2 separate regions of the Homo sapiens genome follow, and region 2 is linked to region 1. The links are contacts of gene promoters, found by promoter capture Hi-C in human tissues and cell types (Jung and others, 2019). All regions are on one chromosome and are shown on one strand. Each heading gives the region's core, a stretch centred on a gene start or on the middle of the fragment in contact. The rest is flanking DNA. Distances are from core to core; before and after follow the strand shown.

Region 1 (6,753 bases), core at 1,954-4,453:
GATGTCTTCCAGGCAAAGTTGATCCATGTCTGCCGTCTTTGCTTTGCCATCCGTTCCTTCTCCAGTTACCAGACGGCTTCTGCCAGCCTAACCCCTTCTAGCCAACTCTCATTTCCTGGCTGTGCCAGCCTGATTACTTCTAATTGTCTTTGACTGCTTCCAGCTGGGTCTAGAAGCTGGCGTTCTGTGGGAGCACAGAGGCAGTCTCCCAGCCATATGGGGCGAGGAGATGGGGAAGGAAAAGGGAAGGAAGGAAGCAGCTGGTACGAGTCAACTGAGAAAGCTTCCCAAGGCTTCACAGCCCACTGGGATTGCTCCTGTTTCTGAAAGGGTTAACTCATCCAAGTTAGAGAATGATCCATCTTCGACAAGACAAACAATTATATTTGTTGATCCCCAAAGGCAACCAACAATGCACCTAAAAATGCTTTTAGAAAGTCACTGGTAACTTGTCTCCCCCAGGACTTGATGGGGTCTTGCTCTCAGGAGCAGTAAAACCCCACTTGAGAATCAGTGAATGATTACTTTCATTCATTTATTCAACAGATATTTACTGAACAATGATCATGTCTCAGACACCGTGCTAGGTACTGTAGGGCAAATAATGAAATTAGACACAGCTCCTGTCCTCAATAAGTCTAAAAGAGAAGAAAGTCATAGATAATAAGTACTACAGGACATAAGAGGAATGTGAAATGACTATATGAACTAAGAGACAACAGAGGGAGATGGGCTTCTTGCAGCTTATTGGTTGGGGAGGTCTTCATGGGAAAGGGAACACCTGTGCTAGGTGGAAATGAGTCGGAGACAGCAGACTGGGGGCGGGCAAGGCACAGGCAAAGGTGTGGCAGTAGGGAGGCCGGATCCCGGCCAGCACCACCCCCTACCCGGGAACTCCGCAGGAGGATAAGGCTAGAAATTAGTTTGGGCTAATTAGCAGAGAATTTTCAAGGCTGCATTACTGTTGCATTGAATAATCAGATGCTTTCTGCACACTGAATATGAGGGCAATATATTGTGTACTAATTTGTTTTACATAAAGACATTTCTGGGGTGATTTCTTGTTAAACAGGCCATTTCAGAGACTAGGACTTGTAGTTCCAAAACCAGTTACAAAGGGGACGCACGGATAGGATTTGGACTTCTCTTTGGCATCCATCCCAGCTTATGGAATTAGCAGTGAACTTGAATCAAACCCAGGCAGCAGGCTTGAAAAAGATTTAATGGGCCTGGATTTTCTCTCTTCTTCACCCCTTTCCTGACCTCTACCCTGAGAGGATAATTAAAAGGAAAGAAAATCTCTATTTCATTGTAAATGTCATCCACCATTTTTATGAAACTTTTTTTTTTTAGACCATAAAAATACTTTGGGGAACAGTCTCAGAAATTTCCCTTAAACCTTAATAAATAAATCTCTAAATTTTCATAAAGAGTGCATGTCCTAACATTAAAAAAAATCATACTCTATTAACACAACATTGGGTGGACTCCCAAACTGTTTCTGATGGAAGATTCAGAGTGGTTTTTTTTTTTTTTTTTTTGAGAAGGAGTCTTGCTCTGTCGCCCAGGCTGGAGTGCAGTGGCAAGATTTCAGCTCACTGCAACTTTCGCCTCCTGGATTCAAGCAATTCTCTGCCTCAGCCTCCCGAGTAGCTGGGATTACAGGCGCCCGCCACCACGCCCGGCTAATTTTTGTATTTCTAGTAGAGACAGGGTTTCACCATCTTGACCAGGCTGGTCTTGAACTCCTGACCTCGTGATCTACCTGCCTCGGCCTCCCAAAGTGCTAGGATTACAGGCGTGAGCCACCGCGCCCGGCCTCAGAGTGGTTTTTACCCCAAAGTGAGCTCCATATTCCTCATTCTTTAGACAGTTGCTGGACATCTATTCTGCTGGCACCACGCTAGTTACCATTCCCCTCCCATGCAACTGTCCTGTTAAGATTTGATTACTGAATTAGAGACATTAAAAGGATTGAATGAACGTTACTGAAATAGTCAAGGCCGGTGGGAGCAAAGAAGTCCCTTCAGCACAGCAAGAAAAACATTTTAAGCTGTATCTTTAATATTGGTAAACGGGAACAATGAGACAGAACAACAGAAAACGCAGTATGTTCCGTCATAATAACTGAGGCTGGTGACTTGTAACAGGTAGGTGGATGAATATAGTAGCGTATTTAAAATTAGATGTATTGAAAGCAGGCATTTCTCTGCGTCCCTCTTCAGATGGGTCAGCGAGACCCCCAGACACTGGATTGATGACAGCTGTTGTTCCCCCACCCCCCACTCCCAATCTCAAAGCATTGCTATGGGTCGATGTCATACTTGTTTACTCAGGAATAAACAATGAAAGGAACTTTGTTAGGACCAAATCCTTCCTTTCAGCTCTGATGTTGCATGATCGGGGTGAAGTTTCCATCAAATGCGGGCACCTCAACAGGTAGCATTTTGTAAATGCCTCCTCCTACCTACCCTCCTCCTTCTCCCTCACAAGATTCTTCATTTTCGGTTTGAGAAGACGTTGGGGATCCTGGGAGAGGGTCCAGTGTCGTCAGGGCAGTTGCAATTGTTTATGCGATGAGCACAGTCACAGCGCTTGCAGAACAAAAGCATCGAAGAGAGGCGAGCGCCGGTCCACCTCCTGCAATCACAGGCATCATTTCAATGGAAGGCAAAGAAGGTGTAAGCTACAAGCAGAGGCAGCAAACGCCCTGGTTCCTACATTGCTGCTGCTACTATTACTGCTGTGGCTGCGCCTCCTCCAACACAGCCAACCAGGCTGCGTGCGAGCCCGGGCAGACGCCTGGCCGCCTCCCCACCCTTTCTTCCAGCCATCCATCTATCCTTCCACCCCCGGTCCAGGGGGCCCTACTGTGTGGCGGACTCAGGGCCGGGCACGCAACCCGACTCACAGTCCACGGAGTTCGAGAGCCTTCCCCCTTCCCCCCGCCCCGGGTGGGTGCGGCCAGTGGGGGATTTCACCGCCGAAAGGTCCAGAAAACCCAAGCCCAGAATCCGGGCAAGAGGCGCAGCCGGAGGCGGCCCGACCTGGGCGGCCCGGGAGCGCGCGCCTCCGAGGCCGCGCAGGTTCTCCCTGTCTGGCGCTCAGGTGGCTTCTCCGTCCACTCCGCCGCTCCCCTCCCCGGGCCCTCCCCTCTCCAGCGAGGGTCGAGTTTGACTGTGGCGCGCGGGGAAGGAGGGGCTACTAGGGATTTGAAAGTGCACGGGCTGCGGAGTGGAGCTCGCATCTGTTCCCGCCGCCCGCGAGCGGATTAAATTTCTGCAAATTCAAACTGAATGGGGCTTTCTTCTGCTGCCTTCCAGAGGGCGCCGGCAGCCCGCCGCGCGCTTCTCTCCGGCGGGAGCGGCCGCCCAGCGCACGGCTAGGAGCGATCGCGGGAGCCCGACCCAAGCCCGTGCGGGCCAGACGGCGGCGGCGAGGCGGAGGCTGCGGAGGCACCCGGGCTCCCGGACCCAGGCACCCGGACCCCGGGACCCAGGCGCCGCCGGACCGCGCCCCACCCCGCGCGCCCGAGCAGGGCGACTGTCATTAGCTTCCTGGACGGGACCCGGGGCGGGATCCTGGTGTCCTGAAAGGGGCCCGGGCGACCCTAAGAGGAAGAACTTTTGGGGGCGGGGTCCCCGGTCCCGCGTCCCCTGGGCAGCCGCTATTGTCTACGCGCCTCGCTGGGCGGCGCGGGGGGCGTGATCGCGGCGGCCCCGGGCTCTGGGTGCGGAGACCCAGGCGGGGCTGGGCCCAGGGCGGCGGCGGGAGAAGCCGGGGAAGCCGAAGAGCCTGGGGAGGAGGAGCTGCGAGCGCGGGAGACGAGCAGGAGCCGCGCGGGCCGCGGCGAGCGCGATGCCGGCGGCGGCGGGGGACGGGCTCCTGGGGGAGCCGGCGGCGCCTGGGGGCGGCGGCGGCGCGGAGGACGCGGCCAGGCCCGCGGCGGCCTGCGAGGGAAGTTTCCTGCCTGCCTGGGTGAGCGGCGTGCCCCGCGAGCGGCTCCGCGACTTCCAGCACCACAAGCGCGTGGGCAACTACCTCATCGGCAGCAGGAAGCTGGGCGAGGGCTCCTTTGCCAAGGTGCGCGAGGGGCTGCACGTGCTGACCGGGGAGAAGGTGAGTCTCCCGGGCGCCGTGGGGCTGGGGCACAGGGGCGGGAGTCGGCGGCCAGGACCCCGCGGGGAGCACTGCACTGGGAGTCCCAGTGTGCAGTCCCGGGCCAAGCGCCTTCCCCCTCCGCCCGGCTTTCCTGTTGGGTTAAAACGCGCGCTCAGCATCTCGCAGCCTTTCCCGAAGGCGGCCTGCGGTCCGCTGCCCGGGGGTTGGGGGCTTGGGAGGGGACGGCCTTGCCCCGGGAAGCGTCCCGCGCGGCCGTTCTGCTCGTGGAAGGGCGCCGCCTGGCGACACTAGCGCGGGGGGCGGGATGGGGCCCCTCTGCCCTTCAGGCCGGCAGGGGCGGCGGATCCGTGGCGAGGCGGGAACCAGGGCTAGAGGAGGTGGGCTCTTATGTCGGGGGGCGGGGGGGGCAGGAAAGCTAACAGCCAGCCTCTGGGGGGAGCTTAGAGTCTGATCCCCGTCCTGGGCTCTCGGAGGAGGTGGGAGAAGGCTGAGATCCTGCATTCCTTCCCACCTGTGGGCTCCGGCAGCTAGGGAATGTTTTTTGGCAGCTAGGGAATTTTTCGTGCTCAGAGGAGGGTTTTTGCCTCCGCCCTCCACTTGTCCATCCCTCAACCTGTGCTCCTCTCTATCCACTCAACCCTCCCACCCCTGCCCCCTCATCACCCACCATTCTCATCCCCGCCATTCTCATCCCCTTCTCTCCGTTCCCCCAGCTCCTCTGTGCCCTCCAGCCTCAGGGTGGGAGCTGCAGTGAAGACCCTGCTACTGGCAGGAACAGAACTACAGATACCTCCCCCCAGAGACTGGGAGATGCCTTCTTATCTTTCTAGAAGAGGGGAAAGGAAAGGGGACCTCCGCGAGACCAAAAGGGGCACCTCTCCAGCCTTGTTGGAAGTTAGATGGTTGTGAACCCTTGCCAGGCGAGGGGCAGGTAAGATGGAAGGTGTAACTTAGAGCTGTGAGAAGAAACCCAAGAGCTTGGTGACTCGCTTTTGAGGCCGGGTCACCCCAGGCTGGAGCTGCCCGAGCTCAGAGCCAATCCAGGCTGGAGCTGTCCCAAGCTCCTGTCATCTCGGGCTCAAGACTGCCCCCAGGCTGGGGGTGGCTCAAACCTGGAGGGGGACCAGCTCCTTTGTGTGGTCCGTGGGTCAGGGAGGCGTCAGCCGCAAGGAGGGAAGGCGGAGTTCACTTCCCAACCGAGCAGGTGGCCTGGGAGCCGAGCCCTCTGCCTTCCGACCTGGGGGCCTCTGCCCAGCCTGGGGCTGCCCTGTGAAACCCCTGGTCACAGGGCCAACCTGCCCTTCCTGCCTGTCTCTAGCCTCACCCCACCTGTAGTTCCCTCCCCACCCCATTTCCCCTCTTTGTCTTGGAGCCTTTTGCCTGTGAATGCAGGTCTCCGTCACCCTTGTCATTTTCCCTGTGTTCCCTACAGCCGTTTTGAGTGAGGCACCGCTTTATTATGGGTATGTGGGGATAGAGTGAGTAGTTTTTAGAAGTGCCTCCTGCCTGAATTCCCATGCAAAAAAGGAGCGTTCAGTATGAACTTGAGTAAGTCTTCAAAGAAAAAGGAAAAACCTCCAAACCTCGTTCTAGTCCGCAGGAGCGAGGCACACTTACACTCCTCGATTCGATTCGATTCGATTCGTAGTGAGCTGTCTGACTTCCACACTGCGGGTCCGTTCAGGGCGCGAGGATGCGGCTAATTAGAGTGAGCTCTCTTCTCCTGGCCCTGTGTAAATTCCTGTTGGCACTGGCGATGGAAGTTTATTTTCATTGGAAACGTATAGGATTCAGGCTGGTTGTGCATATTTCCTCTCTAAACATAACGGAAAGAAGCGAGTCTTTATGCTCACAACGTCATGGCAAACACTGCAAGTACATTCTTCTCGCCTGCCCTGGTGCACAGACTTCTTTTCTGGCTTCCCTCCACCTTGCTGTGTTGTGCTGTGCCTCTGGCTCTGTAGCAGCGCATTTTTGCACCATAAAACTCTTGGCTTTGGCTGAACTGCCTGGGGGTGGATTCAGAGCTCAGCCAGCGCTTGGGTTCTGGAGCTCTGTGCTGGGCCCACTGGGAACCCCGACATGCAGGGAATTCTTGCCCAAATAGGATTCACATGAAGAGACTCGCTGCTTCCCCAGGTGCCCACTCCCCTTCCCTCCCATCTTATGTTTCTTAAATGATGAATCTCACTTCATTGTTGCAATGACAGGAGATGTTAATTGGATGTAAAATTATTCCCCTGGACCCATTGGTGGACTGCGGGTAAGGATGGTGGTTCTTTGGGTGGAGAAGGAGGCAGGGGAGAGATGTCTGTGTTGAAAAACTTGGTTTTCCCGGGATGCTCCTCCCCAGCGGGGAGAATCAGTGCTCCAGGGATTGCGGGCATTGGGAGAAATCTGGATTTTAGTTCACTCAATTGCTGGCTTTAAAGAAACAATGGTGTCATTCATAACATTTATCTCCCAAATCCAGCACCTTTAATGCTTAACTAATAGATTTGGGTTTTAGCAGATTGTGGGGATTAAAATGGTTGTGTGTGTATGCTTGACTCTGAGAAAGATTGCTAAATTAAAATGAGTCCTCATTCCCACTCTAGTTTTGGGTATTGCCTAACTAAGGCCAAAACAAAG
Region 2 (6,207 bases), core at 35-2,534, 130 kb after region 1:
AGGATCTTCCTTGGAGACTCTGAAAATGGCACACAAAGAATGGCAGTTATGAACGTGACTTCTAGATTTTGTCCTTGTAGGAGGCCTTGGTCATGGATAGGGGAAGAGGGATGATGGGATGGAATGGGAGGGTGGGATCTAGATGACCTCTTGAAATTGTCCCAGTTACTGCTTCCTTCATAACTGTTCACAAAACGTTTTTCATATATACCACCTTGTTTCCCCTGGGAAGTGAGGGGACGAAGCCTTAGAGGGTGACATAGCTAGAAAGTGGAGAAGCTCACTGTTCACTGTGCAAAGCCCCAGTAGTCGGATTCCGGGGAAAAGAACAAGTATCTAGTTTTGATGACAATGTTTTCTTGTAAGAATCCCAACACTTTAGAATAGAAAAGGACCTAAGATTCTCTGGCTCAGCCCCAGCCTTTCTGAAGAAGGGAAAACTAGGGACCCAGATGGTTTAAGGACACCCCAGAGTCCCCAGATGAGCTGGCATTTGAGCTGGTCTGGAGCAGAGTTTCTCCCTCAAAGAACACAGAGAAATCAGAGAGTGGCTGCCATGGTCAGAGGGGGATGTCAACAACAGATCAAGCCGTCATCACAACAGGTATTTCTGAAGTTCCTGCAGGGACTAGGTCTTGCATTTTTAAGTCCTTTTCAAAACTGTGCAGCTTCCTGAACCTTATGCTGTTTGTCCCATCCACTCTTGAAGCTGGGGAAAGACAGCTTTCTTTGGGAACTCTGTCTTTCTCAGTTGACTTCCCAAGTAAGCAGCAAACCCCTGGATAGCCTTGTTATCTACTTTAGGTATTAAGAGGCTATTGGGTTTTACTAGATTAAATCAATAAAACATTTCCTATAGAGCCATATCATACACTGAAGCAAATTCAGAAAGAATGCAAAACTGCTATCTTTTGGGGGAGTCTGGAAGCCTGTTGGTTAGTGTATTTATTTTCTTTGTGGGGTCTTCTGTGAGCTACAGGCACAGTAAGAATAATTCAGAGCGGTACTGGGAGTTGGTTCAATTTCATGTCATCACTTTTCAATGAAGGGAGTGCATTTCCTGAGTAGTAAATGAGTATATTATTTGTGGCAGCTTTTCTGTTAAGGGAGCTTTCCAGACATCTGGTTGCAAAGACAAATAGGATATATATTTGTACTTCTTCTCTGTGGACATGTTTTTGTGACACACAGTTATCTCTAGGAGTTGACGTCTGTGGGCACTAAGGGACTGAGGTTGGGGGAGAAAGCTGAGGAGGCTTTGGAAGAGAAGGTGAGGAGCATTTCAGGATTTGCAGTCCCCCTCCACATGTATCCACATCTGAGCTGGTGGTGTTCCAATAATGAGGCATTTGGGGCAACCAATTTTGGAAGGATAGAATAGCTTTATGTGGAGCAAACTTGAGGATCAATTGGAGTTGAGTGGTTTAAAACTTAAAGATGGCACAGGAAGCTGTATCATTTACAGGTGAAAAAAATAAATGGGTCTGACTTCAGGGCCTCAGCTCTTTGTATTTCCTACTTGGAAGATGGGCTATTAGCAATTTTGAAAGCAAAGGCTTTGGTTTACATTTAAACTCTATAATTTTTTTTAAAAATGTGTTCTTTCTAGTCTTGTTACCATAGCCAGCTGGAAAGGGCAAATTGCAAGCCTATATTGGGAACAAGTCTTCTTGCCGAAAGTAGGGCAGTGAAGTTCTTGGCAGATCTGAGATGAGAATGCCTTCCCCTGACTCCTTCATCAGTGTTCAGTGCTCACCTCCTCTGGCAACCAGTATGCTAGAAGATTAGGCTTTGCTATGATCACAAATTAATTCCAAATCTCTGTGACTTGCCCAATAAAGGTTTATTTCTTAAAATATTTTTATGAGGCTGGGCTGACCACAAAACGGCTGTCTTCCATATGGTGACTCAGGGATCCAGGCTACATCCAACTTGTGGCTGTGTCCCCTCAAAATGAAACGTCTTTGGCTGCTCCAGCACAGGAAGGCACGGCTGGAGAGTTTTCCACCAGCCCTTAAACATTCTATGAGGGGACTCATCACTTCTCCCACAGCCCATTGACTGGAACTGGTCACACTGCCTTGTCTGTGAGCAAGAGGCTGGGAAATACAGGAGCATAGGGCTACTTGGGATGCAGCTAATGTTTCTCCCATCTTAGGGAAGGTACAGCTGCCTGCCATTTATTTGTTCTTTGTTTTTGTTTTTGCTTTTGTTTTGAGATGGAGTCTCCCTCTGTCACCCAGGCTGGAATGCAGTGGCGCAATCTCGGTTCACTGCAACCTCCACCTCCTGGGTTCAAGCGATTCTTGTGCCTCAGCCTCCTGAGTAGCTGAGACTATAGGCACATGCCACCATGCCCAGCTAATGTTTGTATTTTTAGTAGAGACGAGGGTTTCACCGTGTTGGCCAGGCCGGTCTTGGACTCCTGACCTCAAGTGATATGCCCGCCTTGGACTCCCAAAGTTCCAGGATTACAGGCATGAGCCACCGTGCCTGGCCGAGATGCCTACCATTTAAAGGTACCCCAAAACTGGACTAGCCTTTTCCCATTGTCACACAATTATAGCACCTCTTAGTAAAGAGTTACTTTTTTAAAATAAAAGAATTAGCATTGGTAAATGTTAATATTTAAGGAGAGTGTTTTGGGCTGAATTCTTTCCTCCACAAATTCATATGTTGAAACCCTCAGCCCCAGTACCTCAGAATGTGACTACTTAGAGATAGGGCATTTAAAGAGGTGAGTAAGTTAAAATGAAGCCTTTAGGGAGGAACCTAATCAAATCTGACAAGTGCCCTTATAAAAATGTGAGGTCTGGGCTGGGCGTGGTGGCTCATGCCTGTAATCCCAGCACTTTGAGAGGCTGAGGTGGGCGGATCATGAGGTCAGGTGTTTGAGACCAGCCTGGCCAACATAGTGGAACCCCGTCTCTACTAAAAATACAAAAAATTAGCTGGGCGTGGTGGCAGGTGCCTGTAATCCCAGCTACTTGGGAGGCTGAGGCAGGAGAATCGCTTGAAGCTGGGAGGCAGAGGTTGCAGTGAGCCAAGATCGCGCCACTGGCACTCCAGCCTGGGCGACAGTGCGAGACTCCATCTCAAAAAAAACAAAAAAACAAAAACAAAAAAAAATGTGAGATATGGATACACAATGGGACACCAGACGGAGGAAAGACCAGGTGAGGACACAGAGAAGGCAGCCTCAGGAGTGAAGCTTCAAGACGAACCAGCTCTGCTAAAACCTTGATCTCAGACTTCCATCCTCCAGAACTGGGAGGATATAAATGTCTGTTGCTTAGATCCCGGTGAGGTATTTCATTACAGTAGCCCAGGCCGACTAACACGGGGAAAAGGTCAGATAGTAAAATTTACATCTTCTAGGAATCTCATATGTTTTGCCCCATATGCCAAATTTCCATTTATCCTTTTCTGACTAAATCACTCCCAGAAAATTTCTCTTTTTTGGAGTGAAATTCCACCCTCTCCTCTCCTCTCCTTTTCTTTTCTTTCCTTTTCGAAGCAGAGTCTCACTCTGTCACCCAGGCTGGAGTGCAGTGGCGCGATCTCGGCTCACTGCAACCTCTGCCTCCTGGGTTCAAGCAATTCTGCTTCAATCTCCTGAGTAGCTGGAACTACAGGCATCCGCCGCCACACCCAGCTAATTTTTTGTATTTTAGTAGAGACGGGGTTTCACCATGTTGCCTAGGCTGGTCTTGAACTCCTGAGCTCAGGCAATCCGCCTGCCTTGGTCTCTCAAAGTGCTAGGATTACAGGCGTGAGCCTCTGTGCCCAGCCTGAAATTCCACCTTTTCTAAGTGTTTCTTGTGCTTTAAGCTCAGTGTGCCAATTATTTTCAAGTTTCTTTCTTCCTTTAATCCAGAGGTCTGCAAACTTTTTCTGTTAAGGACCAGAAAATAAATATTTTAGGCTTAGGAGATGACTGTTGCATATTAGTCTGTTGCGTATTACTCTGCATTGTTTTTAAGTTTAGTTTAGTTTTTGTTTTTGCTATAACCCTTTGAAAATATGAAAACTGTTCTTATCTGGTGGACCTACAAAAACAGGCCATAGCAGATTTTGGCCCTCAGGTAGTTATTTTGCTAACCCCTGATTTAATCTTCACAAAAACTCCGTGAAGTGTCATATTTTCTCTATTTTATAGATTAGTTTTGTGGGTTTTATAGATTGTTTTTGTTTTTAGTTTTTGTTTGTTTTTTGAGACAGAGTCTCACTCTGTTACTTATGCTGGAGTACAGTGGTACAATCATGGCTCACTGCAGCCTCGACCTCCTGGGCTCAAGTGATCCTCTCACTTCAGCCTCCCAAGTAGTTGGGACTACAGGCACATGCCACCATGCTAGGCTAATTTTTTAAGTTTTTTGTAGAGATGGGGTCTCACTATATTGCCCAGGCTGGTTTCCAACTCCTGGGCTCAAGCAATCCTCCTGCCTCAGCCTCCCAAATTGCTGGGAATACAGGCGTGAGCCATCATGCCCAGTTGACACAATCAGGACTTCTGCAATCACACACCACAACTTTCATGTTAGGAACTCACCACTTGAAAGACAGAGAGGGCTCCTTTTGTGACATCTGGGCCAGTGGGCTCTCAGAAGGGCCTGTGGCTAATGGTAACAAATTTGTTAAGAGTTTTGCAAAATGATTCAATCTAAGGGAACTTGGAGGTGGGGAGAGACCCTGGCTCTTTTCTTTGCCACTCCTTCCTTCGTTGCTTTTTGTAGATTTCCAGGGTTGGTTGCCAGCCACAGGAATGGCAGTGCTACAGGAGAGCCATCCTGGTCTCGAGTCTGTCATTACTATTTGTTCCCCACCTTTAGATTCAATCCTGTCTTCATCTGTGCAGAATGGAACATGGCCCTAGTCCCCAAGCTGTTTTCCATTCAAGCTGTTTCCCTTTTCTCTTTTGTGAATAGCCTCTCAAAAATGGGCTCTTAATTGCTTATAAAAAGACAGAGCTTACTCAAAGTCTCAGGAAACAAGTCTAAATCTGGAGCAGATGTGAAGCTGGATGATGCTTGTAGACAGATCATTACCATTACTCACAACTGGGTGACGTGCGGGCCATTGGGATGGACGAGTGTCCCCGCCAGTGAAAGATGAATCATGTCATCTGAGTCAGAGAATTTCAAAGAGCCATTCAGAGTCCTTACCACCCAGAGCCCCTTGAATTATCTGAGCCATTCTCACGTTCAAAGCATTAGGCCAACTCAGAGAATCACAGGAACAATGGTGGTCACCCAGCCTTGGGCTTAGATCTCCAGAAGTTTGAATGAAGAAATTTTGGATTTTCAGATTCTCAGGCTAAGCACAATGCAACTTGTTGGAGCATCCTTTTCACAACTCACTGCTACTTTTTTTTTTTTTTTTTTGAGACAGAGTATCCCTCTGTCACCCAGGCTGGAGTGCAGTGGCGCGATCTTGGCTCACTGCAACCTCCACTTCCCAGGTTCAAGCGATTCTTGTGCCTCAGCCTCTCAAGTAGCTGGGACTACAGGTGTGCACCACCATGCCCAGCTAATTTTTGTATTTTTAGTAGAGATAGGGTTTCACCATGTTGGCCAGGCTCCTGACCTCAGGTGATCTGCCCACAGCCTCCCAAAGTGTTGGGATTATAGGTGTGAGCTAACCCACCCAGCCTCACTACTACTTTTAAAACAAAACAAAACAAAACAAAGCATTTTTACCTAAAACTAATATATTATGTATCCCAGATACAAAATCAGTTGAATTTTGTCAGTACAATCCTTATTGTCCTCTAAGCATTCAGGGAATCATTTTAATAAGCAGGTGATGCAATTGAGACCAGAATGGAGAAATGATGCATTGAAGAACTCACAACTTGTCAGTTACAGCCTCTGCCTTCAAGCTCAGTTCTCCTCCCAGGAACCTGGACAAAGAACCCAGAATTAAAAGAGGATCTGGGGTGCTTGGGGTGTCATGATGTCTGAGGTCTACTCAGTCCCTTTTGCAAAATTTTGCACAACAGAAAGGGTGGACATGGTGATGGCCATAGTAGGAAGAAGGAAATTGATTTGTGAGGAGTGTTTGAATGAAGAGGGTGTATGTGAGTGCTCTTTTCACCTTCCTAAGCTTGGTTTGTCTTGCCCTCCTCTGAGTACTCCTAGCAGCAATGATTACGTGTAATAATTGTTACATTACTGTTTCTCCCAGGGCTCTGGGACACTGTCTTAC

The links. The method cuts DNA at HindIII sites, captures the fragments that hold promoters and counts their contacts. A contact is called where the count stands out against the background at its distance.
Region 2: a contact is called between a fragment that was not itself captured here and the fragment with the promoter of HUNK in region 1, in 2 of the 25 tissues and cell types used here (lymphoblastoid cells and thymus).

What each region holds. Positions count from the first base shown.
Region 1 is chr21:31,869,817-31,876,569 of GRCh38, forward strand. HUNK (hormonally up-regulated Neu-associated kinase) reads left to right here and starts at 3,204. Exons shown (of 11, transcript NM_014586.2): 1 at 3,204-4,119. The coding sequence starts at 3,859. RefSeq lists silencers at 3,322-3,371, 4,298-4,477. The HindIII fragment of the contact is 17,092 bases long and covers 1-6,753 here.
Region 2 is chr21:32,002,572-32,008,778 of GRCh38, forward strand. It overlaps HUNK (hormonally up-regulated Neu-associated kinase), which reads left to right. Exons shown (of 11, transcript NM_014586.2): 11 at 1-1,493. Among named protein-coding and RNA genes, the nearest start is that of LINC00159, 81 kb to the right of the region's middle. The HindIII fragment of the contact is 6,747 bases long and covers 1-4,658 here.